Regions from separate parts of the Homo sapiens genome. Here regions 1 and 3 are each linked to region 2. Evidence: promoter capture Hi-C in 16 types of primary human blood cells and fetal thymus (Javierre and others, 2016). All regions are on one chromosome and are shown on one strand. Each heading gives the region's core, a stretch centred on a gene start or on the middle of the fragment in contact. The rest is flanking DNA. Distances are from core to core; before and after follow the strand shown.

Region 1 (3,937 bases), core at 919-3,418, 270 kb before region 2:
AGGCTGGTCCTGTACTCCTGACCTCGTGATCCACCTGCCTCAGCCTCCCAAAGTGCTGGGATTATGGGCGTGAGCCACCACATCCGGCTGTATAATTTCTATTTCTTTCACTTGTTAAGTGTACGATATTTATTTTCCAATAAAATTACCCTAGAAAACCTTAAGGGGTTTGTTTAAATTGCATATTAGTATATAGTATAAAGTTGACAGGGCAGTGGCTAGAAAATATTTAAATTACAGAAACTGTTGGATTTAAGTTTCTTTTAGGACATTTAGAAGAAACAAATCTGGTAGTACCCCAGTGACATAGAGAACAGAATTCTACATAGGGTCCTCACACTGCCCCAGACTTGTTTACATATATTCTTTTTGAAGGCCTTATTTAGGTCTGACCATACCCTGGAGTCTTGCTCTCAGAACTGATTAGTAGAGATCAAGAGTTTTGGCTGGTGAATCCTGCTGCCTTTCTAGAGCTGGTGCTCACAATTTCCTGAAACCCAAAAGCAGATGAATGGGAAAAATAAAGTATGTATTATAGAGTCTTAGCTTTTAAGTTTTCTATTAAAACCAGTGCTTGCAGAGACATTCTATTTAGCAACTTGTTTTCTATTCCTGCAGATCCAGTAATTGCTCCCCAAGTAACAAAAAAGTAAACATAAACAGAATAAAATTTTCTCTAAACTGCATTAAACTCATCCTTTCTATATCTTTTCTATCTGTCTATATTTAGCTTTTATTTCTTACAACTTTTTAAAAAATTTGATGACAGAGAAACAGAAGAATAAAAATGCTGGGCCCTTTATCTAAATCCTGAAAATTCCTAAACCCTTAGTACTAGCTCCCAGGGTATTATGAGAATTAAATCACATAATGTGTTATGCCCAGCACAGTGCTCTGTATCATACTCTTGAGCACATAGTACTTGCTTAATAAACATTGCAGTAGTACATGTGTACATGTTGTTTTTTAAACCCAGACTTATTCAAACATTGCTGCCTTCTGTTTCCTCTATAAACTTAAAGAGCCAGCAAAGAATATAAAACTTTAGGATGGAGATGGGTTGTCCTTATTTGCACGACAAGTATTTGGTTGTGAGAAGGGTGTTAAGTGTAAGGGACCCTGTGCTCTGCCTGCTTTCTCTAATGCTAATAATGAGCCAAGGGGGAGCAACATCAGCATTGACAGGAGACTTGTTTAAAACACTCTTTCATAAACCCTTTTCAAACCTGCAGAATCACCTTACATAATGTGGGACCAAAATTACCAAGTGATTTATACTTGTGCCCTCCCCACAGCTTCTGTTTATTGTTCTGGGTGGAAGGATCCATGTTGTTTTAATGAAGGGCCTCATGTGACTCTAAGGTGAGGCCAGAATCAAGTATGAAGGCTTCAAAATACATTTTCGAGAGTTAAGTTCCACCTTTGCACTAAAGGGTGGTCACAGGGCCTGTTCTGTTTGGGTTTGGTAGGGACAGGTCAGTGTGGTGCATATTTCCATTACTGTAGCAGAAATTGCTGGAGTCTCTGGCAGGGGAGGGCACCTGAGGACAGGAAAGGAGAAGCTTATATTTTTGTCTTCATGGAGCAGCTCATTATTCCTGAATCTATTCTGTTTAAAAGACAGCAGTAAGTGAATTTTTCTTTTTCTGCCAGTTGATGTCATACTAGCAGGTAAATGTGGTACTGACACCTTTAAAGGCATATTCTCCATATGCAGGTGTAACTTGTCCAGAGAATCTCATCTGAGAAGGAATTCCAGAGGAGGAGGAGAAAGAAAAAAATGGCTTTTCTTCAGGTAAACATGTGTCAGATGAAGAGCTGTGTCCACTCTGCCTCCTGGACTGCCATGCGTTTAGTACTCACAAACCTTTACTTCTCTACTTGTGTTTTTCCTCCCTAAGGAGTTTGGTTTAACTACTTCTTAAAATTCTTATGATAGTCAAGGGTCTCTGGAAAACGTTTCTGTCCTATGTCCCACAGACTTCTCTACATTCTGTACGTCATAGCTTCTTATATGCCATGCAGAATGCTCCGCAAGAATTTATGACCTGCAATATTAAAAATGTTCCCTTTGTGGCTGTTGAACATGGAAAGATGTGGATACTCAAGGTTTCTATTGGGGAAAACTGTGGCCCTTAGTAAAGATGGAGAACATGTAATGTTGAGGCTCCAGCTGTGTGTTCCATTAGCTCTATGCAGAAGAGGATTAAGAAAATGCTGATTTAAATGGAATGGCATTTATTACCCAGAAAGTTCTGAAAAAAATTATTAGGAGATACTTGCTCTCTAGGGTGCTAAATGAAGCCTAATTAAAATTCCTACTAAAAATTACAGAACATAGGAGTTACCTGTATTTTGAAGTTTGCATAAACTGTTGTTTATGGTTAAATTCAGACTAGTTTACTGTTTTGGGGAGGAATATTTCAACAGTGATGCTGTGTTCTTCTGTGTGCAGTAGCACATCATAAAAATTTGTCCTAGTGCAGTTAATGGTTAATGATTCACTTGGTGAAATAGCTGATTGATTTTTTTCACTGTAGAGATAACTATTTTTCTCTTCATAATTATCTTTATGCAGCTGCTCTACACAAGTGATCACATTTAATCTGGCAGTTCTCCTTTTATTTTTTCTACATATTTTTCTTTAGAAAATGAAGGCTCTTATCTTTGTTTACAGGCTAGAAAAACTGGGAAAACACAGGCTCTACCACTTACTGGATCTTTGACAAAATATCCTTATTAGGCCAAAAACGTTAGCATTACTGGTAAGCTTGTTAGAAATTCAAAAAATCAGCGGGGAGCCCTGGCTCATGCCTGTAATCACAGCATTTTGGGAGGCCAAGGCAGGCAGATCACCTGAGGTTGGGAGTTTGAGACCAGCCTGACCAACATGGAGAATACCCTGTCTCTACTAAAAATACAAAAATAGCTGGGCGTGGAGGCACATGCCTGTAATCTCAACTACTCAGGAGGCTGAGGCAGGAGAATTGCTTGAACCCAGGAGGGGGACACTGCCGTGAGCCAAGATGATGCCACTGCACAGAAGCCTGGGCAACAAGCATGAAACTCCGTCTCAAATAAAAAAGAAAAGGAAATAAATACGTAAATCAGACTTACTCCAGATCTTCTTGGAAAAAAAAAAAAACCTGCATAAGGTCTTCAGCTTATTGTACATAATAAATTTGAGAAATGCCTAAGTGAATGTCTTTTCCATCTGAAAAATATTCACAACTCATTCCGTATGATGTAAATATAGCACTCAAAAATGTACATGTTCGTGTTCATGCCCTTAATTTTATACTTTATTATCTAGAAAAATAAAATATATGAACTGTTGTTCTGGATCTTATGGTGCTTTTTTTTTTTTATCATAGTTAGAGAATAATATTTCTGTTTTGAAAATTATTTTATTGGATAATTTTAGTCAGTGCTATAAGTCAGAACCACTTCTCTTTACTCTCTCATTTCACCTTAAGTCAAATTAAAAATTCCACACCTGGCCACTTGGTAAAAATGTGTGTGTTCTTCAGGGACCATTGCAATTTAGAGATGTGGCCATAGAATTATCTCTGGAGGAGTGGCATTGCCTGGACACTGTACAGCGGAAGTTGTATACGAATGTGATGTTAGAGAACTATGGAAATATGGTCTTTCTTGTTGAGGATAACTTTAAGACATAATTCATAATATACCCTAAAGGTTTTATTTCTCTTTTATGTAGAACTTTTTAGTAATCTATTCTTTGCATAAAAGAGTTTCAGATCCCCTTTTTTCAGAAAATCTTCAAAATTTGCTCATGCAGAAAAGTCTCTTCAAGATGTTTCATCTTAATCCAAACTTTCCACATTCCTGATTTGAGCTGTATAATTCACTCTAAATTAGTGGTAATTCCAAAAATTTAGTGACAAAGTATTCTTGCCCCCACCTGAAAATCTAA
Region 2 (3,972 bases), core at 1,388-3,887:
ATATTACGGGCAGCAACTCTGGGAAATAACTGGGATTACATGAGATCATGAGAGAGACCTAGGAGTACAGATTAGTATCCTTAGGAAAAGAGATGAGTATCTATCACTTTCAGATGTCATTCAGTATTTTTTCCATAATAAACTATTCAGTAAACAAAAGATCATATCTGACTACTTCTAGATGTTGCCAAACTTATCCCAAAGGATTCAGCGTTAATCTGTCAAATCCAGATAACACAAAACAGAACAGAGTTATCCACCATCACAAATTCCCCAACCTGCAAAGGAGAGGAGCTGATGTGCTGGTGAATCTTTGTAAATCACTAATTTCTGCTTATCTACCATGCCTTTTTTTATTATGTATTTTTTGAGATGGAGTCTCGCTCTGTCGCGCAGGCTGGAGTGCAGTGGCGCGATCTCCAGCTCACTGCAAGCTCCGCCTCCCGGATTCACGCCATTCTCCTGCCTCAGCCTCCAGAATATCTGGGACTACAGGCGCTCGCCACCACGCCTGGCTAATTTTTTTGTATTTTTAGTAGAGACGGGGTTTCCCCGTGTTAGCCAGGATGGTCTCGATCTCCTGACCTCGTGATCTGCCTGCCTCTGCCTCCCAAAGTGTTGGGATTACAGGCGTGAGCCATCGCGCCCGACCTACCATGCCTTTTTTTTGTGGGAATGTATTCATATTCTGCAGCCATAATGGAAGATTTCCTTTTTTTTTTTTAAAGACAGGGTCTCACTCTGTCGTTCAGTGCAGTGGCGCAATCACAGCTAACGGCAGTCTCAACCTCCCCGGGTTCAGGTGGCTCTCCCACCTCAGTCTCCTGAGTAGCTGAGACTACAGGCATGCGCCACCATACCCGGCTAATTTTTGTATTTGTTGTAGAAATGGGGTCTCGCCACTTTGCCCAGGATGGTCTCAAACTTCTGGGCTCAAGAGATCTTCCCGCCCCAGCCTCCCAAAGTGCTGGAATTACAGGCGTGAGCCACCTGGGCAGGAGAATCGCTTTTGACTTCCAGAGCAGACTGGGCAACATAGTGAGACCTTGTCTCTACAAAAAATAAAAACTAGCCGGGCGTGGCGCATGCCTGTGGTCCCAGCTTCTTGGAAGACTGAGGCAGGAGGATTGCTTGGGCCCCAGAGGTTGAGGCCGTAGTAAGCCATGACTGTGCCACTGCATGCCACCCTGAGCTGCCTCAGAAGGGAGAAGTTTCTTTCTACTGTTTCTGGCCCCACCCCACCCCCAAGGGCCAGCAGGGAATCCCTCTGGAATTTCCTAAGGAAACTTCTTTTCAAAAGACAAGAACTCCTCCCTAGGAGGCTCATCAAACAACCAGGAAAGATTAACCACGCCAGGACAGACTTTTCACCCGTTCTTCCGAGGGCAGCTGGAAGAAGTCCCTGGACGGTCCTGAAACCCAGGACCAGAAAGATAGGAGGGTGGGCTGAGGACCCAATACCCTGTGAAGTTCCCAAGAGAAGCCTCCACCCAAAGACTGTCTGATAAGGTGGCCGCGCCTAGGGAAGGTAAAAAGAGGGCAGGCACAGTGATTTTTTTTTTTTAACATCGGAGTGTCAGGGGGTTATTTTCTGCTTTGCTCGCATGTGAAATGTTCACAAACGGAAAATGAACTTTTTAAGAAGTGCCATCTAGGGCTCCTTGGAAAAGATGACAGTTAAAACACTGGGTCTTGCCAGGCGCAGTGGCTCAAGCCTGTAATCCCAGCACTTTGGGAGACCGAGGCAGGCAGATACCTGAGATCAGGACTTCAGCACGGCCAACATGGTGAACCTGTCTCTACTGAAAATACAAGTTAGCCGGACGTGGTGGCGGGCACCTGTAATTCCAGCTACTCAGGAGGCTGAGGCAGGAGAATCACTTGAACCCGGAAGACGGAGGCTGCAGTGAGCCCAGACAGTGCCACTGCACTCCAGCCTGGGCGACAGAGTGAGACTCCGTCTCAAAAATAATAGAAATAATGATAATAATAATAATGTGAAGTGGATGTACTGGAGGGAGAACTTAGGGTTGGGGAATGCGGGGAAATTTAGGGATTTACTGCAGCCCTGGGAGGAGCGAAGCTGGGGGACGGGGTCGTGGGTTTGAAACCCAGCTTCCCACACCTTTGGAAGACTCCGAAGGAAACGGGGACCGCCTAAGGGAGGAGGAACTGGGGACCCCACAGGCCACGGCTCCTCCCGCACGAACCCCACACCCGAGGCGGGATTCCCCCTAAGACCCTCCTGAGGCCCCCGCACGATCTGGGGAGACGCGGGGCTGCGGGCGCGGAGCTGCCCTGAGAGGGCTCCGGGGCCGGGACAGGACACCCGGGGTCCCGGCGGCTGGTCCAGCTCCACCCGGCGACCGAGGGGACCAAGGGTCGAGCTGCGCCTGGGGGACTCGGGTCCCAGACCCCCACAGTCGCCGCGGGGAGGCCCAGGTCCAGCCACTGCCGGTTCCGACCAGCTCCTCCTCAGGTCTCCGGACGCCCGGCTCCGCACGCTCACCATTTCCGGCTTCCGGGTGTCCTGGGTCCTTCCTGGGGCTGGAGCAGCCAGAACAGGTCCCACACGACAAAATCAGCCGTATCCGGGGCACCAGGGGCTCCCCGAGGAACTAAAACCCGGACCCGAATGGGGGGCCGGCGGGAAATGAGACCGCTTCGGGCTTTGGAAGTTGCCCCTCCTCCCGGCGCACCTGATTGGACAGTTTGCCGCACAGCGCCTCTGACTGGCTGGTGCCCCAGGTCCCGCCCCTGGGGCTTGAGCGACAGGAGAGGTGATCGGAATCCTCAAATAATCCGCTCGCTGTGTGGGGTGTGACTGACAGGTGCTACCCACAGCCCCTCGCTGGGACCTTGGACCTGGACTTGCATGGAAGCAGAACTTGCTCCCGTTAGGGTCAACCCAACCAGACTGTTCCCCTCCTTCCCCCATCAGTCTTACAATACAGTCCTTTGTGACCGCCACACAACTCCCCCCGGGCTAGAAGTAGACCTCCTCCCCACTGACCCTTCCAGTAACTGTTTGTTCAAAAGACTTCAGCTGAACCGGCAGACAGTTCCAGGATGCGGTCACAACACCTGCCCACCTTGCATAACAAAGCTGGCAAAAACATCTCCAGGATGCGGTCAGGACACCTGCACCCCCGACTCAGTTCTCACACCCCAGCCCAGTTCCTCGCCCTATAAAGCCCTGCTGTAGTCTGTAAGCGGGGCTGCCTCCTCTAACTGTGGGGGAGCAGCCCAGCAGGTTAATAAAACTTACTTGACTGACTTCAGGTCTCTTCGTCCTTTCGGCTGACCTTACAGCTCCTGGTTTTCCGGAGCAGGCCCTGTCGGCTTCCTGTACTCAGTGGGTCCTTCCTGCTGCTTTTTTTTTTTTTTTTTGAGACGGAGTTTCGCTCTTGTTGCCCAGGCTGGAATGCAATGGCACGATCTCAGCTAACTGCAACCTCCGCTTTCCGGTTTCAAGCGATTCTCCTGCCTCAGCCTCCCGGGTAGCTGCGATTACAGGCGCCCACCACCACTCCCGGCTAATTTTTGTATTTTTAGTAGAAATGGGGTTTCACCATGTTGGCCAGGCTGGTCTCGAACTCCTGATCTCGTGATCCGCCGGCCTCGGCCTCTCAAAGTGCTGGGATTACAGGCGTGAGCCACCGCGCCCAGCCGCCTCCTGCTTCTTTTTCCGGAACACCGGTCACATGAGTGTGCACGGAATTCCAGACTCCGTGTTCAGTGAAGCCATCCCTCCACCTTGGAGCTGGAGAGACTCCCAGGTCACAATGGAACAGGTAGGAGGCCCTGATGTCCTCCAGAGATCAGGAATTTATGAGGCTATTGGTCCCATGGCCAAGGCTTCCTACACGTTACTTCTTCTCAGGCTACTCCTTTTCAGCCAAGAAAATAAAAACATGCCTTAAAGGGAACAAAATTATTAAATGCAGGGAAAAACTGGAGTAAACCACTTTT
Region 3 (3,477 bases), core at 10-2,509, 290 kb before region 2:
CTCCTTGGGCTGCGGTAAGCATTTTTAATGCCATTTGATTTTGCAACACAATAGTACGCAGCTGAGCAAATTCATCTGATAACAACACAAGTTCAGTGCTACTATCATTAAGAGCTTTTTCTACATGTAAGGTAAATATTTTAATGTGTTGGTGAAGGAGGAATGTACTGGTGGCAGGGGAGAATACTGTGATAGGGTACCACCACCAGGGAGACCAGCACATTTGTAACCAGTGGTGTTTGTAAGCATCTAGATTACTGGGGAAGGGAATATTATCCCGGATAGTGAATGGAATTAATGTCCACCCTCAAGTGCATCTTCCCATCCAATGCAGGGACAGTATTGCAACCCATAGGATCTGCATACCCAGAGGGCCCCCCAGGGGACAGCAATGGAGCTACTGTAATCATAGTGTACTAATGTGTTATTAAAATAGGAAAGAGATTGTGGTTCATTGGGGGGCAGTGTTGTTGATTTGGAGTATGTGTTGACAAATGTCTGAAGAAACCCCAAAGAAACATTAGAGGAGCCATTTAAGGCCTCCAGAAAAAGCGAAGCCTGTATGGAATCCAGCCACCAGCACAGCAGGTTTTCAGTGTATATTGTTCCAGGATTATTGGGCAAGATATCAAGACTTTTGATGCAAGGTGAGGGTGGAGTTCATCTTTTGTCTGACCTGGCAAAGATAGATTGCTTAGTGTGGTGAAAGGAAGCCCAGGTTGGATTGCAAGTGTTGTTGTTGTTGTGGCCCTACTGGTAACAATATAGCCATTCAGAAATGTTGTCAGGGACGATTCTTCAAGATAGCCCATCCCAGGCAGCCTCCGGCAACTCAACATATAGCCAACATTGACTGTGGATGGCTTCAGTTGCAGCGGTGGCTACCCAGGTGATGAATTTATTCTTGGCTTCAGACACAAAGACACAGGTGCTGACCATTAGTAGATAGGTTATTCCCTGTAATAACAAAAATGGAGTGGAACATGATTTATTTTTCATCTTTAGGAAATTGTACTATGCCTTCATTTCCCGCTTTCATAGCTACAAGGTCACCAGCCTTAGGGTCAAGATGTGATGGACGCTGTATGCATATTTTGGCTCCAGGATTTAAGCTACCTGTACCAGGGGATCTGAATCCCCCAGTTCTGTATGTAGACTCTGTTGGGGCAGAGATTTCCTCAGGAGTTAATTGTTGACAAGGGTACCACTAAAAATTGAGTAACCAGCATCTAGTTTTATAGCAAAAGAATCTGGAGTGTTATTGTATAAAATGACCTTTAACTCTCCCTGGTAATCACTATCAATTACACCACCATACACTATAATGCCTCTCTTTGCAAGGCTTGAACACATTGTAATCTATTCATCCACATTCAAGTTTACTGTTATGGTGGAAATTGTGGCCTGTTTTTCTTCCTGCTGATTAAATAGCCTGTCAAGAGAAAGCAGAGATGCATGGGCATCAACATGGAAAACAGGGCTGCACATGGTGGTGAAGGGGGCCTGCCCCTCCACACCTGTGGGTGTTTCTCACAAGGTGGAGATGAGAGACTGAGAAAAGAAATAAGACACAGAGACAAAGTATAGAGGAAGAAAGGTGGACCCAGGGGACCGGCGCTCAGCATACGGAGGACCCGCACCCGGCACTGGTCTCTAAGTTCCCTCAGTATTTATTGATCACTATCTCTTTCATCTCAGTGAGGGGGATGTGGTACGACTACAGGGTAATGGTGGGGAGAGGGTCAGCAGGAAAACATGTGAGCAAAGGACTTTGTGTCATAAATAAGTTTAAGGAAAGGTGCTGTGCCTTGATGTGCACGTAGGACAGATTTATGTTTGACTTTACACAAACATCTCAGTGTCGTAAAGAGCAGTATTGTCGCCAGCATGTCTCACCTCCAGCCATAAGGTGATTTTCTCCTATCTCAGTAAATAGAATGTATGATCAGGTTTTACACCGAGACATTCCATTCCCAGCGATGAGCAGGAGACAGATACCTTCCTCTTATCTCAACTGCAAAGAGGCCTTCCTCTTTCACTAATCCTCCTCAGCACAGACCCTTTATGGGTGTCGGGCTGGGGGATGGTCAGGTCTTTCCCTTCCCATGAGGCCATATCTCAGGCTGTCTCAGTGGGGGGAAACCTTGGACGATACCCAGGCTTTCTTGGGCATGAGGTCCCTGCGGCTTTCCGCAGTGCATTGTGTCCCTGGGTACGGGAGACTGGAGAATGGCGATGACTTTTACCAAGCATACTGTCTGCAAAGACATTTTTAACAAAGCACATCCTGTACAGCCCTAAATACATTAAATCTTGAGTCAATACAGCACATGTTTCTGCGGGCACAGGGTTGGGGCTGGGGTTACAGATTAACAGTATCTTAAGACAGAAGAATTTTTCTTAGTACAGATCAAAATGGAGTTTCTTATGTCTTCCTTTTTCTACATAGACACAGTAACAGTCTGATCTCTCTTTCTTTCCCCCACATGGTGGCTGACGCCTGTAATCCCAGCACTTTGGGAGGCTGAGGTGGGCGGATCACGAGATCAGGAGATCGAGACCATCCTGGCCAACATGGTGAAACCTTGTTGAAACAGTGATAACAGTGAAACAGTGATAATGGCAGTGTGCAATGGATTGAGATATCTTCCAAGTATTGTTGTCCCCAAACCTCTTTATTCTGAATTAACCATTTGTTTCATTGTCATTGGGGCTTCCAGGTAGAAAGACCATTTGGTACTGACCAAGATTTGGTATACAAGTGAGAAATCCCTCTGCCTTCCTCCTGAATAGCTTGAAGGATGGCTACTAGTTCAGCTAACTCGCTGCTCCCACCCCTTCCTTCATCAGAAATTTTTATGTTTTTAACAGGATTATAAGCCACAGCCTTCCAGCATCAGGTCCCACCAATGTATTTGGCGGATCCGTCTGTAAATCAAGCATGTTTCTGATCCTCTGGGCTTAGTTCTTCAAAGGATTTGCCCCACTGGGTGGGAGTGAGGGGATTTCCTTCCCTACCTGCAGGACTTGCTCCATGATTTCCTGAGCTGGCAGGTTTTGTGCATCCTCATGTAAAAGTGATACCCACTTTGGTTTTGGCTTAGCCTGGTCTTGTATGTACCACGTCCATTTTATGATGCTCCTTCTTGGGCATGCCCTATCTGGTGGGTTTTGGGGGAACTCATGAGCCAAGTCATAATAGGAGTTTCGGGCCTCATAAAGACATCATGGTTGAAGCAGAGGTGTTCTGTTTCCAGCAAAGCCCAATAAGAAGCTAACAATTGCTTCTTGAAAGGGGTATAAGCTTTTCCGGCCTCTGGCAGTTTCTGGGTCCAAAACCTGAAAGGTACCCTCTTCCCACCTTGTTTCTGCCTAAGGCTCCAATTAGCATTTTGATCTAGGACAGTTACTTGCAGTTCTCCTGGCCCATCCTGTATGGGCCATAGATCCAGGGCCAGTTGACCCACTCATTTAGCT

The links. The method cuts DNA at HindIII sites, captures the fragments that hold promoters and counts their contacts. A CHiCAGO score of 5 or more calls a contact.
Region 1: a fragment that was not itself captured here is called in contact with the fragment with the promoter of ZNF101 in region 2 in 1 of 17 cell types (non-activated CD4 T cells); the score reaches 5.9 in non-activated CD4 T cells.
Region 3: a fragment that was not itself captured here is called in contact with the fragment with the promoter of ZNF101 in region 2 in 4 of 17 cell types (M2 macrophages, total CD4 T cells, total B cells and 1 more); the score reaches 6.4 in M2 macrophages.

The regions. Positions count from the first base shown.
Region 1 is chr19:19,937,424-19,941,360 of GRCh38, reverse strand. LOC124904665 (a long non-coding RNA gene) reads left to right here. Exons shown (of 3, transcript XR_007067170.1): 1 at 1-1,626; 2 at 1,699-1,795; 3 at 2,678-2,843. Among named protein-coding and RNA genes, the nearest start is that of ZNF93, 38 kb to the right of the region's middle. The HindIII fragment of the contact is 1,208 bases long and covers 1,565-2,772 here.
Region 2 is chr19:19,667,504-19,671,475 of GRCh38, reverse strand. ZNF101 (zinc finger protein 101) reads right to left here and starts at 2,637. Exons shown (of 4, transcript NM_033204.4): 1 at 2,510-2,637. The coding sequence starts at 2,512. RefSeq lists enhancers at 1,816-2,381, 2,382-2,948 and a silencer at 2,228-2,427. The HindIII fragment of the contact is 10,038 bases long and covers 1-3,972 here.
Region 3 is chr19:19,960,599-19,964,075 of GRCh38, reverse strand. It overlaps the pseudogene BNIP3P12. Among named protein-coding and RNA genes, the nearest start is that of ZNF93, 61 kb to the right of the region's middle. The HindIII fragment of the contact is 4,095 bases long and covers 1-3,306 here.